3 separate regions of the Homo sapiens genome follow, and all the other regions are linked to region 1. The links are contacts of gene promoters, found by promoter capture Hi-C in blood cells and fetal thymus (Javierre and others, 2016). All regions are on one chromosome and are shown on one strand. Each heading gives the region's core, a stretch centred on a gene start or on the middle of the fragment in contact. The rest is flanking DNA. Distances are from core to core; before and after follow the strand shown.

The links. Contacts are between HindIII fragments. The CHiCAGO score rates a contact against its expected background, and 5 or more counts as called.
Region 2: a contact is called between the fragment with the promoter of WASL here and the fragment with the promoter of FAM3C in region 1, in 1 of 17 cell types (M0 macrophages). The highest score is 6.3, in M0 macrophages.
Region 3: a contact is called between a fragment that was not itself captured here and the fragment with the promoter of FAM3C in region 1, in 2 of 17 cell types (total CD4 T cells and total CD8 T cells). The highest score is 5.8, in total CD4 T cells.

Annotation. Positions count from the first base shown.
Region 1 is chr7:121,394,182-121,399,324 of GRCh38, reverse strand. It overlaps FAM3C (FAM3 metabolism regulating signaling molecule C), which reads left to right and starts at 3,017. Exons shown (of 10, transcript NM_014888.3): 1 at 3,017-3,163. It also overlaps the pseudogene CYCSP19. RefSeq lists silencers at 2,653-2,712, 2,753-3,582 and enhancers at 2,810-3,394, 3,395-3,980. The HindIII fragment of the contact is 3,372 bases long and covers 1,277-4,648 here.
Region 2 is chr7:123,745,785-123,750,927 of GRCh38, reverse strand. WASL (WASP like actin nucleation promoting factor) reads left to right here and starts at 1,925. Exons shown (of 11, transcript NM_003941.4): 1 at 1,925-2,310. The coding sequence starts at 2,194. WASL-DT (WASL divergent transcript) reads right to left here and starts at 1,733. Exons shown (of 1, transcript NR_170281.1): 1 at 1-1,733. RefSeq lists silencers at 1,643-1,962, 2,423-2,512 and enhancers at 1,541-2,195, 2,955-3,004. The HindIII fragment of the contact is 6,394 bases long and covers 1-5,021 here.
Region 3 is chr7:123,558,104-123,563,246 of GRCh38, reverse strand. It overlaps a transcript of NDUFA5 not described here. Among named protein-coding and RNA genes, the nearest start is that of NDUFA5, 2.9 kb to the right of the region's middle. RefSeq lists enhancers at 4,952-5,091, 5,142-5,143, 4,957-5,143. The HindIII fragment of the contact is 3,539 bases long and covers 892-4,430 here.

The sequences.
Region 1 (5,143 bases), core at 1,768-4,267:
CTTTCAATAAGTAAAAGGAACTATTTTAAATACAGGGAATTCTAATTAGATTGACATAGTTAAGGCCAAAAATATAAAGTAGACATTGCTACCTTATCTTCAACCCTTGCCTTTAAGAGGCAAATGAACACAAAACACAGGTGAATCTTGCTTGGTTCTGAGATAGTGAAGGAATTTCTCCAGTATTTAAATATATTCACATAACCAGTTATATAAATCCAAATATAAAACCAATCTCCAATATGTTTTAAGATGGCATTCACCATCTTTGTGAAAAGCTGAACATTACTAACAAAGTCTAATCAAATCATGTCTTTAGAAAGGGTAAACAGTGATAGCATTTACTGAATTGGATTACTATTAAAATTCAAAAAAACTGAACATATTCATTTAACTGCAAGCCAGTCTTAGTTTTACATCAGGACTGCCCAACAAAATATTCTGTCAGTTATTCATGATCTGAATTCTGGTGTGTGAGGTCTATTAAATTATGGTACACATAAAAAAGTCATAAGACATTTCTGTTTTGTAATAAATAAGGCAGTGGCCAATTATTATTCATTAGTAGCTTTTTTGAGATAAGCTATCAAGTCTGCTCTTTCTGCCTTCTTCTTAATGCTGGCAAAGATCACTTTGTTCCAGAGATGTGCTTCTTGGGATTCTCCAAATACTCCATCAGTGTATCCTCTCCCCAGGTGATGCCTTTGTTCTTAATGGCATCTGTGTAAAATAATCCAACGGCTTGACCTGTCTTCCATCCGAAGAGACCATGGAGATTAGGCCCAGTCCTGTGCTTGCCTGCCTTTTCCACAGTGTGGCACTGGGCACACTTCTGAATACAAATCTTCTTGCCTTTCTCAACATCATCCATATTTAATCCTCTCTTTTGTTGCTTGTGCTATGAAGGATGACACTCAGAAGCTGGATGTCACACTCTCTGTATATTCTTTTCGAGTCAACAAAAAAGTTGGGCTTTGAAGTTGAGCACGTGAGTTTGAATCTTAGCTCTGTCTGGTCATAGCAGAAGGACCTTGAGCAAGTTTCACTTTTCTCCGCTGTATTTATAGGATTATTGTGAGAATTAAATAAGTCTATATATATAAAGTGCTTAGAAAAGTGCCTGGTGCACAATAAGCACACAATAAATATCAGCTTTAGAAATATACATTATCAGTAGCTATTATTATATAATATAAATTATCGGTAGTTATTGTAATAGCCAACACCTTTGGCTTATACCTCCTGGAGCTGTAAAGCTCTGTGGTTTTATTAAGCTTAATCATTAATCCTGAATACTTCTCCTGGCTCCCCTACCTCCTGCCAAGTAAAAGTAGGAAGTTATCCTTACTCGTTTATAGGTGTAAGAACTGGCTGATTAACAGGAGTCCTAAAGAAGTGATTTACCAATGTTAAAAAAATTGAAACCCATATTAAGAAATATAATTTCTACTGTATCCAGGACATAGACACACAGACACTCACCCACACATGATGCTGTACAAATGTTTCATGAAGAATACTTATCCTGAATTTATGCTTTGAACTGTTTTTTTTTTCTATTTTTCAGTGAATCAACAGCAACAAAATGTTGGTTGTGACCCATTGTTATTAATTTCATTACCTACCAAAGGGTTCTAAGCTATATCTTATGGTCAGTGGAGAATAGGCTACTAACACATTAAACTTTATGCACAGGAATTGTTTCAGGTGTGGTGCTATAAGAATATGTCACATGTAATTTCCAATCTGGTTGGCTCGGTTACAGAGCAGATTGCTCTTTCAGAAATACACCGTGACCTCCCTACTCAAGAGGCTTCATAAACTCTTTCAGTGAGACATAGCAGTCTAGGAGAGGCATGTGTACAGTAAGTGTTATGATTTTTTGGTACTATAATAAGCAAAGTGCCTTTTTGTTTATTTGGAGCTACATGAAGCTAGGCCGGAATTCCAGCTTCATAACTTACTATCTTGTATTTTTGAGCAAGATATTTAAACTCAGTTTTGGAGTCTTAGTTTTTTGATTTAAGTAATACACAAATAGCATAATATTGGCACATGGAAGACAATGAGAATTCATTTCATGCTTTCTCCCCTGATCACGGATCACAAACTCCAGAATTCATAGTTACTATTAGTTTGTGTGTTTTATATTTTTGGAGGAAAGCTAAAATTTGGTAGATTATTAATTCTATATTAACACACTATAGTCAAACCCTATTTTTAAATGCAATTTAATTTCTGCAACCACTGATGATCCCAATATTCTGTCAAATACTAGGTAACAGTTATTCATTATTTTAGAATATGGATCTGAATTATGAAATAATTTTGCATTCTAAGGTCTTATGTAGTAAGATTTGGATTAACTTCCCAATTATCAACACAATTGTAGGAAATCTCCTGAGAAAAAATATTTCTAACGATTGTGTATCTTATAATTTAAAAAATAAACGTGACTTGGAAAATGCAAGGACTACTGTTCTTCTTGGGTGGTGCATTAAAGGTGATCAGAATTCTAATGACGCTGGACAGTAGGATTTTCAGAATCAGTTTCCTAGGGTTCAAGAAGTCAAACGGCAAATAACCCAAGGTCCTTGGTTGATCTGACCATCTCAGCTATCTCAAGATATATAAGATGACCTAACTGGCGCATCTCTAGGATGGGTGGGTCATTTAAAATGTTCTGCCCTTGAGGCTGGGATTTTGTGCGTGTAAACGGTGGGGAGACGGCGGTGACACATTTTTCTCCCTCCCGTAGTGCCACCCGGCGCAGGGCCGCTGCGGCGGCGGCAGCTCCCACGTGGCAAGTTCAGATTGTGCAGCGCCTGGCCGGGGGCGGTGGGCGGGACCGCAGACCCCTCCCTCCGCTCTCCGGCCCTTCCCTCTGGCCGGCCCGGGCGCCCGCTTGGTCCTCCACCGCCAGGGGGCGGGCGCGGCTTCCCGGCGGCGGGGGCCCATTGGTCGCGGCCGGGAAGCGTGGGAGGAGGCCCAGCGGCGAGCTGGCTTTCTCCTGGCCACTTGCCGGGGTGAGGGGCAGCCGGAGGAGTCCGAGAGGAAGCGGAGGCGCGAGCTGGAGGCGGCGGCTCCCGTCGGCCTCCGGCAGGACTGAGCGCTGGGAGGCCGGAAGGCGGGCGCGCGCGGCGGAGAGGCGGGCGGGAGGCCGGTGAGACGGCTGGGAGGCGGACGGAGCCGGGGCTCAGGTTCGGGGAGGGATGGAGGAGGCCGGGGAAGCCAGACGCCCACCTACGACTTCAGCCTCCGCGCACTGCGGTCACCGGCCGGGGGCGGGCCCCGGGCCCGGCCGCGTTGTCACGGCGTGTCCGGACGTTGGAGAGGGCGCAGGCGGGACTGGGGTCCCGGAGAGCCGCTGGCCGGGGTTCCCGGCCGCCGCCCCGGCGTGGGCATCCCCGGGCTCCGCGGAGACGGGGCGGCGTCTGCACCTGGCGCTGGCACTCGGCGCCCCGGCCTGGGGCGGGCACCTGGGTCGCATCTTCCCCAGGTTGGCTGTGGCTCGCGCCCCTGCAGCGTGTAGGCTGAGAGCTCCGAGAGGTGGGGACGGAGTTGGGTGTTGCATTCCAACTCCATAGGGGGCCGTTTTGACTCACTTGTAAAGTTTTAGTGTCGCCTATACTAGAGGTACTTTTGGTTTTTTACAAGCTATCCAGCCCTTTGATGTTTGGTGTCTCTTCTTTTTCTTCCTATTTGTTTGCTACTGCTCTCACAGCTCGGGACCACGGATGATGATTAGTGGCCCTAGATCTGAATATGTGAGTGACGGATTGGCAATTTGAGATTGAGAGCTCCAGCTGTTTTACTTGTGGGAGGAGCGGTTTCCATCATCCTCTACCTTTTTTTTTTTTAAGAAAAAATATTATTGCCTGTAATATAGAACTGCTATCTAATTGATAGGACTTTTCCTTTGTTTCTTTTTGGCCAACATGGTGAAACCTCGTCTCTACTAAAAAATAAAAAAATTAGCCAGGTGTATGTATCCATATATATATATGTATGTATGTATCCATATATATGTATGTATCCATATATATGTATGTATCCATATATATGTATGTATCCATATATATGTATGTATGTATCCATATATATGTATGTATCCGTATATATGTATGTATCCATGTATCCATATATATGTATGTATCCATATATATATGGATACAATGACATAAATAATATTAGATTGCTTACTGTGTACTAGGCACTGCCAAATGGTTTCGTGTGCTCATTTATTCTCACAACAGCTCAGTGAATAAGTCCCTTTATCTTTTCTAGTTTTACAGATGGAAATATGAACTCCCGAGAGTAAAGGTCAATGCTGATAGCAGAGGCCCCGACCCCTTGGACTTGTGGCCAATTTGCAGTTACGTTTTCTTAAGTCTTGGGAACCGTTACTATTAGTCATACAGTATCTTACAGAGTACCAGCAGATCTCTATTGAATTTAGAAAATAAAAGTTAATCACTTACTGAAAGCCATTTAACAAGAAATTGGCAGAATCAGCAAATCAGCATCCGGTTTTGGTCACTTCATCGACCTGTACCTCTTTCTAGAGGCTACTAGTAGTCTCTTGTGTTTCTTGGCTGTTTACCAATAAAGTCACAAGGTTTTCAGTTTTATACAGGTATTAGAAGCTTTGTTTCACAGATTCTTGTAATGTTTTCTCAACTCAATAAAGACTAGCATTTCTTCATAGGAAGAAATAAGAAGAGTTGGAGCCAATAAAAGGAGTTCAGTCCAGCAGTTCTCAACCTGAGGACCTCTCTGAATTACCAATGGGAACTTTGTAAGAGGGACACAGGACAGGTTCCTCAAAATCCTCATTGTAAGGGGCTTCTGTTTCAAAAGGGAGTAAAAATAAGACACTACTGGCTTAAAGTGACTTTAAAAATAAACTTAATGGATGTTTTATTACAATTACAGATTTTTAATGTGGATTGCTGCCTTAAGCATTGTCAACTAATCTTTCATAATTTATGAAGATACATTAAAAAGGAAAAGGAAATTGGAAAAGACAGCCAAAAGGCTAAGAGGCTATGGAATGGCAAAAAGTAATGTTCCCTGAGGGGGTATCAGAAGACTCATATATTTTCCACCATATATTTTAGGTTTTGAACGATTCATTTTTCAA
Region 2 (5,143 bases), core at 676-3,175, 2.4 Mb before region 1:
AATACACAATAACTGTACATATTTATGGGGGTACATAGTGATGTTGCAATACATATAACATATAGTGATTAGGGTAATTAGCATATCTATCATCTCAAAAACTTATGTCTTTGTTTTGGGAACATGCAATATCCTTCTTCTAGCTATTTGAAACTATACAATATTGTTAACTATAGTCATCCTACAGTGCTACAGAACACTAGAACTTATACCTCCTATCTAGTTGTAATTGTGTATTTTACAACTTTGAAGTAGGTGTAATTATCCCTATTTAGACTATACCTGTATGAAACAGAAATTATTTTCATTTTACAGATGAGGAAACAGACGCAGAGAAGTAATTTGTCCAAAGTCCATAGGGTTGTAAGACTCATAACAAGAACTACAACTTGGGCCTATCTGAATCTTATACTTCTGGTACTATACTTGTTCACAGGTTTGAAAAGAGCTTTAATTTCTATTATTTCTCAAGAATTTGTAATGCTTTCTCTTGTCACTGTGCTTTCAACTTAGAGGAGTTGCAGTTTTGATAAAAGACAAACTGATTTAGCTTCTAGGTTTGTTAAATATGTAATTCAGAGGCAACTCCAGGCTTATATTTCTACGACTGCTTTCTAAATCTAATTATTTTATAAATAGTCCTGTTGCTTTAATTCACTTTTTACCCTAACATAATTAATCAAGTTTAACTTTGAAATCTCCATATTTTATGTGAGAACTCCCAAGGCTATCCACTTTTATTTTCCTTTGTAAATTTATTGTTGCTCAGCCTATTTCATTAATGGCAGCTTTAATTATAATATTTTATTATATTTTCAAAGTGCATGATAATGGTTTACCAGTCTGGTTAGTACATCAGAGATTTCTATTGGGAGCTATCAGAGATGTTAACATCCAACAATTTTACCAAAGTGTAATTGTTATAGACGTCTTAACATGAATTTACGCAACAAAAATATGTTTAATGTGGAGAACAGTGAGATGCATATTTGATAATTCACTGCAGTCTGCATCATCATCTCTATATTCCAAAATTTCGTCTTAAGCCGTTTAGTATTTAACTTACAGAAGAAAGGGGGTTATCTTAGATAACTTTTAATATCCTAAGGTATTTTCCAATTCACGATACAGGGAGAAAAGAAATGTGTCCAGGCCCTTAGAAGAAAATACTTTGAATTTAAATGTGACACATACATTAAACCCGCGTGACACGCCAGGCAGGCGGTGGAAGTCAAGTGCATTTGTTTTTGTTTCATCCACCAGGGCGATCTCTTTCACAATTCTGGGAGAGGCCTGTTTGTTCCTCCACTCCCACAGCTGAAGTTTGGGACAAAGTTTGAGAAAATCCCAGGCACCTGCGGCTCCTATCGAAGCCGGCGAGGAGCACAGGGTAGAGCGTCTCTTCCCAGTTTTCAGTCTTCAGATCGCAGGCCTCTCGGACCCGCAGAGCGAGCTTCACGCTGCAGCGCTTGAGAAATAAGAGCTATTCCAAGGAGGGGCCCTGGGTCCTCACTGACGCTTCGCAAAGGTGTACGTCCGCCCAGGGAAGGCCGGCGGCGCAGCGACGGCGAGGAGTCCCCATCCATCTTCTCTTCAAGCAGCAGTAGCTGGGTTCGGGTACCCAACCGACGAGCCGAGACGCCAGAGGCCAGAGTACGAAGTTGGAAGCCTGCGCCCCAAGCCAACCGGGATTCCACTTAGCTCCGCGCGGTCCGCGCCTCGGCCGGAAGGGGGCGTGGCTTCGGGCCCGCGCCGCGAGGCCCGCCGCCGAGTGGGGGGGTTTCTCCCGGGCCGCAGCCGCGCGTTTCCGGCGCGCTCCCCCGCGCCCTCCGTCCTGTGGTCTCGCCCGCCCCCGCTGCCATGTTGGATTGTGCGGCCGCCGCCGCCGCTGCGGGAGGGTTGGGGGAGGAGTTGGGAGTTTAGCGCAGTCGCCGGAGTGCGAGGACAACGACCATCCGGCCCTAGCCTGGCCGGGCGGGTGCCGGGAGCTTCCCTTTCTCAGCGCGGCGCGAAGGTGGCTCGCCGTCAGCGCCTGCTTCCCTCGACCTCGTCCTCCTCCCCGCTCCGGAGGAGCTGCGAGATGTGGCGCCTCTGACTCCACTTCTCCCCGCCCCTGTCACCGAGAGGGGGAACGAGCTCTCGCCCACTCGCCGGAGGAGACGGCCCTGGACTCCCAACCCCGCCGGCGAAACCATGAGCTCCGTCCAGCAGCAGCCGCCGCCGCCGCGGAGGGTCACCAACGTGGGGTCCCTGTTGCTCACCCCGCAGGAGAACGAGTCCCTCTTCACTTTCCTCGGCAAGAAATGTGTGGTCAGTGGACGAGACCCGCGTCGCCACCCGTGACATTACCTCACGGGCCCGGGCTTGGGGGCCGGGAAGTGGGAGTGGGGAAGGAGGCGGGAGCGGCGCGGGCCAGGCCTCCCGCCAGCCCCGGCCCCGGCCCCGGCCCCTCGTCGGCGCCCTCGCCCTGCTCCCAGGGTGCGGGCCGTGGCGGTCGGGCGCCGCCTTCCCGAGCTGCTGGAGAATAAGGGAGTGTCACCTCCGCAGGCCTGTCCTCCAGCCTGGCCGGGCCTCGGCCCGCGCCCTTGCTGCTGGTTAAAACTTTATTCTCAGGCCACAAGGGGATTTTCTTGCAAGAGCCGCTTGGTCCTAGAATCTGGGCCCTTGTTCTAGCTCTCGCTTCACCTCTTACTGCTTGATCTGGGGGTACGTTCCTTAACAATGCCAGGTTTGAGGAGTGGATAGGTCGGGGAAGGAAGGTGGTTTTTAATCTCCCATTAGGATTCCAGGAGGGAATGAAGTCGAGTGCAAGAGCCTGGGCTCTCTTCGGATTAGAGAGGGTGCAAGAAATGTTATTGCTCTTCGTTAAAGAGAAACAAGATTTATTTCTCTAGCAACCTTGCCTAGGCCTGGTTTCTACTCTCCTTCCCACTGATTTTTTTTTTCCCCCCATTGGTGGGAGGGGGTGCTGCTCTCCCCGCAGCCATGCGCAGGGAAACCTCAATCTCTGGTAGCTCTTGGCTTTTGGGGCCGAGAATGATTCTTAGTTTGGTGCTGTGCGGCCAATTCCAACCCCAGATGGCCGGTTGGGAGCGAGCAGTTCTGCTGTGGGAAGGGGAATGTGTGTTGTTGACGGAAGCATTCATTACATTGGCTGCTGGCAATTCTGGGGGTGGGGAGGTTCTGCTCTGTGGTGTAGGCCTTGTCGGGATCATACTGCGGTGACTGGGTTGAAGTGTGGTTTGTTGAAATACTGGCTGGATCCCTTTCTCTCCACTTTGCTAGCACCTGCAGAGTATGTGCCACTGGAACCCAGAAAACACGGAAATTTCAACAAAGCAATACCATTTTATAACTCCTTTAAGTAATATTAGGTATGCCAAACCAGATTTCACCTGCTTCTTTAAGAAGTTAGGATTAGACAATTTCTGGAAAGTTATTGGATTCATTGTTAACTTCATAGGAGTCCACCCTTTGTATCTTGTGCCATCCGGTTGGAGATTGAATCGTTCCATTCAATTTCAGATGTGTTTCATATTTCGGAATTTAGACCTTAGAGAACATTGAGTTTCCTGATTAGAAGGATGAAACAAGAGGAGTGGCTCAAAACGAGAATTTTGGGTAACAACTTTAAGCCCCTCCCCATTCACACACACTTTTTTCAACAAATGAGAAAACTGATCCAGTGAGCCCAAGTCATACAGCAATTTAATAATGTAACCAGAACTAGAAAACCAGGACTCCTCACACCTAGTCCTATCCCATTGTACTTTGCACTACATCATGTTGTTTTAGAAGGGTATTTTTTTTTCCTGTTACTGATTTATTTCTAAAAGTGGTGTTAAAGAAATAACCACTTTGCCTTTTTCACCAAAAACTAATTAAAATACAAGATTCTTAAAGCACCACTAATGTTTGCATATGCTCAGTTTAGGAAAATCTTCAGCACTTTGAATGTTAGTTACCTCCAATGAAAAAAATTCAGTTGCTGGTTTAGTAGATTAGCTATGTAACCTGTATCAAAAAGGAAGTAGTTGTGCTGTGTTCTACATACCAGACACATTAACTTTAGGCAGAAAGGACATTACATTTATACACAAGTATACTAATTGTTCTGTGCTTACCTGTAGTTTTACTGGTTTCGAAAAATGGCAGATGGGGAAAAATACTGTGATAGAGAAAAATGATGTTGCACATTGGTTAGTGTAAGTGGATTGCTGAATAGGCTCTCAGTATTCAGTGCTTAATTTCTTTATGCCATCTTTTATTAATCAACTGTACCTTTTGAATTTGTCATTTAAAAACCACACTTTCAGTTGTCTGCTTTTGTGGGATGAAGTCGTTGCAAATACTAATTTCAATATTTGAAGTCCCTAGTTAATAGAGAGTGAAGTAAGAGTGATATTTTAATTTTTGAAATAATCTTTTCCTCCCTTGGCTGATTATTCAGGTTGTTTTTGTCCTTTAAAACATTACTGAAATATATTGTCTCATAATAAATCCAGCAGTAAGATTTACAGGTCAGACCAAATGTGTTAGGCAGAAGTATACTCAGTACTCAGAGCTCTACCTAAGAATTCAAGAAATGAAACAGAAGCAGTTATAGTCGAAGCTCTGGAGGAGCTTCATTTCTTCTTTCATTCAACAAACATGTATTGAATAAATGTTGAGGTCAAAATCTGGAAGGGCTGATACTTGTCCTCAGGGAGCTTACTAGGTCTAAAAAGGGAAACGTGTAAACTGATAAGTCAGTGCTTCAGAGTGATGTGTAAGAGGCTGCTTTTCACAGTAGAAAATGCCTTGGCTTTGTAACAGCAAATGTGGGTTCAAACTGGGGGTCACTTTGGACAAGTTTCTTGAGCTTCCTATCCTAGATTTGGTTTTCTCATCTGTAAAACAAGGATACTATCTCATGGGGTAGTTGTGTGGATTAAGACTGTGTATAAATATATGGAAACTATTTTTATAAAGGTTTAGGGGATTAAAGGAGAGAATGGTGGGAGAGAGGATGATTAAAAGCTTTTTAAAATGGATAACTGATTATTTATATTTAAACAGGTACTCCCTAGGCTGATGAGAGGTATGAAACAGCTTGAAAAGTTAGGAGACCTACTAATAAGTTTGTTAGGTTTGTTAGGGAGCA
Region 3 (5,143 bases), core at 1,412-3,911, 2.2 Mb before region 1:
AGTGAGGGAGGCATGTTGAAAGCTAAGATGGGCCAAAAAGTAGGCCTCTTGCACCAGTTAGCCAAGCTGTGAATACAAAGAAAAAGTTCTTGAAGAAAATTAAAAGTGCTACTCTGTTAACACACGAATGATAAAAAGGCAAAACAGGCCAGGCGCGGTGGCTCACACCTGTAACCCCAGCACATTCAGAGACCGAGGTGGGCGGATCACCTGAGGTCAGGAGTTCTAGGCCAGCCTGACCAACATGGTGAAACCCTGTCTCTACTAAAAATACAAAAAAAAATTAGCTGGGAGTGGTGTGCCTGCCTGTAATCCTAGTTACTCAGGAGGCTGAGGCAGGAGAAATGCTTGAACCAGGGAGGCAAAGGTTGCAGTGAGGCGAGATCGTGCTGCTGCACTCCAGCCTGGGCAACAGAGAGAAAACTCTGACTCAAAAAAAAAAAAAAAAGAAAGAAAGAAAGAAAAGAAAAAGAAAAACAGCCTTATTGCTGATATGGAGAAAGTTTTAGTGACCTGGATAGACCAGGCCATCCACAACATTCCCTTAAGCCAAAACCTAATCCAGAGCAAGGCCCTGACTCTCTTCAGCACTATGAAGCCTAAGAGAGGTAAAAAAAGCTGCAGAAGAAAACTCTGAAGCTGTTAGAAATTGGTTCATGAGGTTTAAGGAAAGAAGCCATTTTCGTAACATAAAAGTGCAAGGTGAAGCAGCAAGTGCTGATGTAGAAGCTGCAGCAAGATCCAGAAGATCTAGCTAAGATCACTGATGGAGATAACCACAGGAAACAATAGATTTTTAAAAATGTAGATGAAACAGCCTTCTATGGGAAAAAGATGCTATCTAAGACTTTCAAAGCTAGAGAGGACAAGTCAACACCTGGCTTCAAAGCTTCAAAAGACAGGCTAACTCTCTTGTTACAGGCTTATGCAGCTGTTGAAGCCCATGCTCACTTACCATCCTGAAAATCCTAGGACCCTGAAGAATGATGCTAAATCTAGTCTGCCTGTGTTCTATAAATGGAACAACAAAGTCTGGGCTAAGAAAAAAGAAGATTTCTTTCAAAATATTACTGCTCATTGAAAATGTACCTGGTCACTCAAGAGCCCTGAGGATGAAGATGTACAAAGAGATTAACATTGTTTTCACGCACAACATGCTGCAGTCATCATTCTGCAGTCCACGAGTCAAGGAGTAATGTCCACTTTCAAGTCTTATTTAAAAAAATACATTTTATAAGGCTATAGTTACCATAAATACCGATTCCTCTGACAGATCTGGGTAACATAAATTGAAAACCTTCTTGAAAGAACTGACCACACTAGATGCTATTAAAAAGATTTGGTGATTCATGGGCCAGGTGCGGTGGCCACGCTTGTAATCCTAGCACTTTGGAAGGCTGAGGTGGGTGGATCATGAGGTCAGGAGTTCAAGACCAGCCCGGCCAAGACGGTGAAACCCCGTCTCTACTAAGAATACAAAAATTAGCCGGGTGCGGTGGCAGATGCCTGTAATTCCAGCTACTCGGGAGGCTGAGGCAGGAGAATTGCTTGAACTGGGGCAGCAGAGGTTGCAGTGAGCCAAGATCATGCCACTGCACTCCAGCCTGGGCAATAGAGACTCTGTCTCAAAAAAAAAATTGGTGATTCATGCAAGGAGGTCAAAATATCAATATTAACAGGAGTTTAGCAAAAGTTGATTCCAACTCACATGGATGACTTTGAGGGGTTGAAGATCAGTGGAAAAAGCCATTGCAAATGTGAGGAAAACAGCAAGAGAACCAGAATTAGAAGTAGAGCTTGAAGATGTGACTGAACTGCTGCAATCTCATGATAAAACTTGATCAGATGATGAGTTGCTTCTTGAATGAACAAAGAAAGTGGTTTCTTGAGATGGAATCTACTCCTGGTGAAGATACTGTGAATATTGTTTAAATGACAACAAAGTCTTTATAATATTTTATAAATTTGGTTGATAAAGCAGCAGCAGAATTGAGAGGACTGATTCCAATTTTGAGAGTTCTTCTGTGAGACAAGTGTTATCAAACAGTGCCTTCTGCTACTGACAAATCTTTTGTGAAAAATTTCTGCAAAAAGGAAGCTGGGATTTTGATAGGAATTGTGATGAAACGCTACATCAACTTGAGTATTGCCATCTGACCAATATTGACTTCAAATCATTAAATAAGAAATGTCTATTTATTTAGATCTTTAGTATTTCCAACAATATTTAATACTTTTCAGTGTACAAGTGTTACACTTATTTTGTTAGATTTATTTCTTTTTGATGCTATGGTAAATAGAATTGTTTTCTTAATTTATTTTCAGATTATTCATTGCTATAATAGACTAGAGCATATTTTTGTATATTGATTGCTATGGACTATGTCCCCCAGATTTCATATATTACAGCTCTAAACCTCAATAAAATGGTATTTGGAGATGGAATCTTTGGGAGATAATTAGGTTTAGATGAGGTCATGATGGTAACAGTGGCCTTATAAAAAGGGACACCAGAGATCTTGCTCTCCACCCTGACCCAACCCCAAGCACACACGAAAAGAGGTAAATATGAGCATACCATGAGAGGGTAACCAGTATAAGCCAAAAGAAAAAGCCTCAGAATGAAATCTGTCTTGCTGGCTTTGGTCTTAAACTTATCAGCCTTCAGAACTGTGAGAAATACATTTCTGTTGTTTAAGCCACCTCATCCATAGTATTTTGTTATGGCAGCCTGAGCTGACCCTGATAGATCACGTATAATGTAACTTTGCTGAAGTTATTTGTTTTAATTGTATGTATGTGTGTATTCCTTAATAATCCTATATAAAAGATTATGCAACTGTGAATAGAGATAGTTTTACTTTTTCCTGTCTCTTCTGGATGACTTTTATTCATTTTATTTTCTTGCCTAATTCCCTTAGCTAATATTTCCAATATATTGTTGGATAGAAGTGGTGAGAGTGGAAAAATATTTGTCTTGTGAATGATCTTAGCAGAAAAGAATTGCCTTTCACTCTTAAGTATGATGTTGTGGGGTTTTTCTAAGCATCTTTATCAGGTTGAAAAATTTCTCTTCTTTTCCCAGCTTGTTGTGTGCTTTTATCATGAAAGCATGTTGAAATTTGTCCAATGCTTTTTCTGCATCTATTAAAATTATCATATAGTTTTTGTCCTGTATTCAATGGTACATTAGATTAATTGATTTGGGGATGTTAAACCAACTTTGTATTTTTGAAATAAATATCATTTATTTGTGGTGTATAATTTTTTTTTCATATGCTACTGAATTTGGTTTGCTAGTACTTTTCTGAGTATTTTGTGTTTATTAATAAGGGATATTGGCCTGAAGTTTTATTTTCTTTTTTCTTTCCTTTTTTTTTTTTTTTTTTGTGAGACGGAATCTTGCTCTGTCACCCAGGCTAGAGTGCAATGGCCCAATCTTGGCTCACTGCAACCTCTGCCTCCTGAGTTTGAGTGATTCTCCTGTCTCAGCCTCCAGAGTAGCTGAGATTACAGGCACACACCACAAGGCCTGGCTAATTTTTGTATTTTTAGTAGAGAGAAGGTTTTGTCATGTTGGCCAGGCTGTCTCAAACCCTTGACCTCAGGTGATCCTCCTGCCTCAGCTTCCCAAAGTGCTGGGATTACAGGCATGAGCCACCAGGCCCAGCCGAAGTTTTCTTTTCTTGTTGATTTCTTTGTCTGGTTGGAATCAGAGTCCACACCTGGCTGAAGTTTTTGTTTCTTGTTGATTTCTTTGTCTGGTTGGAATCAGAGTAATACTTGCCTTATAGAATTAGTTGTTAATTGTTTCCTCCTCTTCTATATTTTGGAATAGTTTCTTAAGTGTTATTCTTTAATTGTTCAGTGGAATTTACCAGCGAAGCCATCTGGACCTGTGCTTTTCCTTCTGGATAGGTTTTTTTTTTTTTCTTGCTAATTCAATTTCTTTAATTATGTTAGATCTAGTCAGATTTTTCTTTATGCCTTCTTGAGTTGATTTAGGTAGTTTGTGTTTTTCTAGGAATCTGGCCATTTTATCTACTTTATCTTTTTTAAGCATAGTTGTTCATAGTATTCCTTCTTATTCCTGTTTATTTCAGCAAGGCTATTAGTGATGGTTCTTTTATTCTTGCTTGTATTAAATCTTCTCTCTTTTTTTTCTTAGTTTCACTAAAGGTTTGCCAATTTTGTTGATCCTTTTAGGGAACCAATTCCTGGTTTCATTGATTTTCTTTATTGATATTCTGTCTCCTTCTTTTCTAATCTTTAATATTTCCTTTCTTCTGTTTGCTTTTGGTTTAGCTTTCATTTTTTCTAGTCTCATGCCTCTAATGAAAGGCCTCATCTCTTCCAACTCATTCTCTTCAACTGTTGCCTAAGTTGTTTGTATATCTGAAACATAAATTTGATGGTGTCACTTAGAAGCTTAAAAGTCTTCTCATTGTTCCCATTCCTTAAAAAGTAAAATTCAAATTTTGTATAATGGCAAACAACACCTTTCATAATCTTAACCAGTTTACCTTAACAATCAAACCCACCTTTCCAATCACATAAAATCACCTGGAATTTATATATACATTTTTAACCTCTTTTCCTTTGTACTTGTGTTTTCTCAATTTGTTCTTTTCTCCTACTGACTTTTTAGAAAGTCACCCACGCTTTTTAGTTATTTCCTTTTCCCTGGTACCATCACACTTTGCATCAACTTCTTTTAGAACAGTTACCAAATTATTTATTAATACACGCCTTCTTCATTATTCTTTGAATTCCAGGATGTGAAATCCCATTTTAGAAATTATGTCCCAGTAACTGACACATAGTGAGTGGTCAGTGTTTGTGGAGGTAGGAAAAAGTGGTATGGTCTGATATCATTTCATCTGGAAATAAGATGATGTATTTCAGCCAGTGAAATCGAAAAGAGCGATGGAAAATGACCTCACACTCCATAGGGCTTTGGTTCGTAAGACACAGAGAATACTGATATCCTTGTGCGAAGAACTAACTTGCTGTTGAGAGATCAATTCAGAGGATGCTCAAGCTCCGTTATCACTTTCATTTTACTAAACTGAGAAAGGAAGGTTGAGGAATGCATCAACGGTTAAGCACAGTGCAGGTTCCTACAGCGACTGGAGTTTTTTGG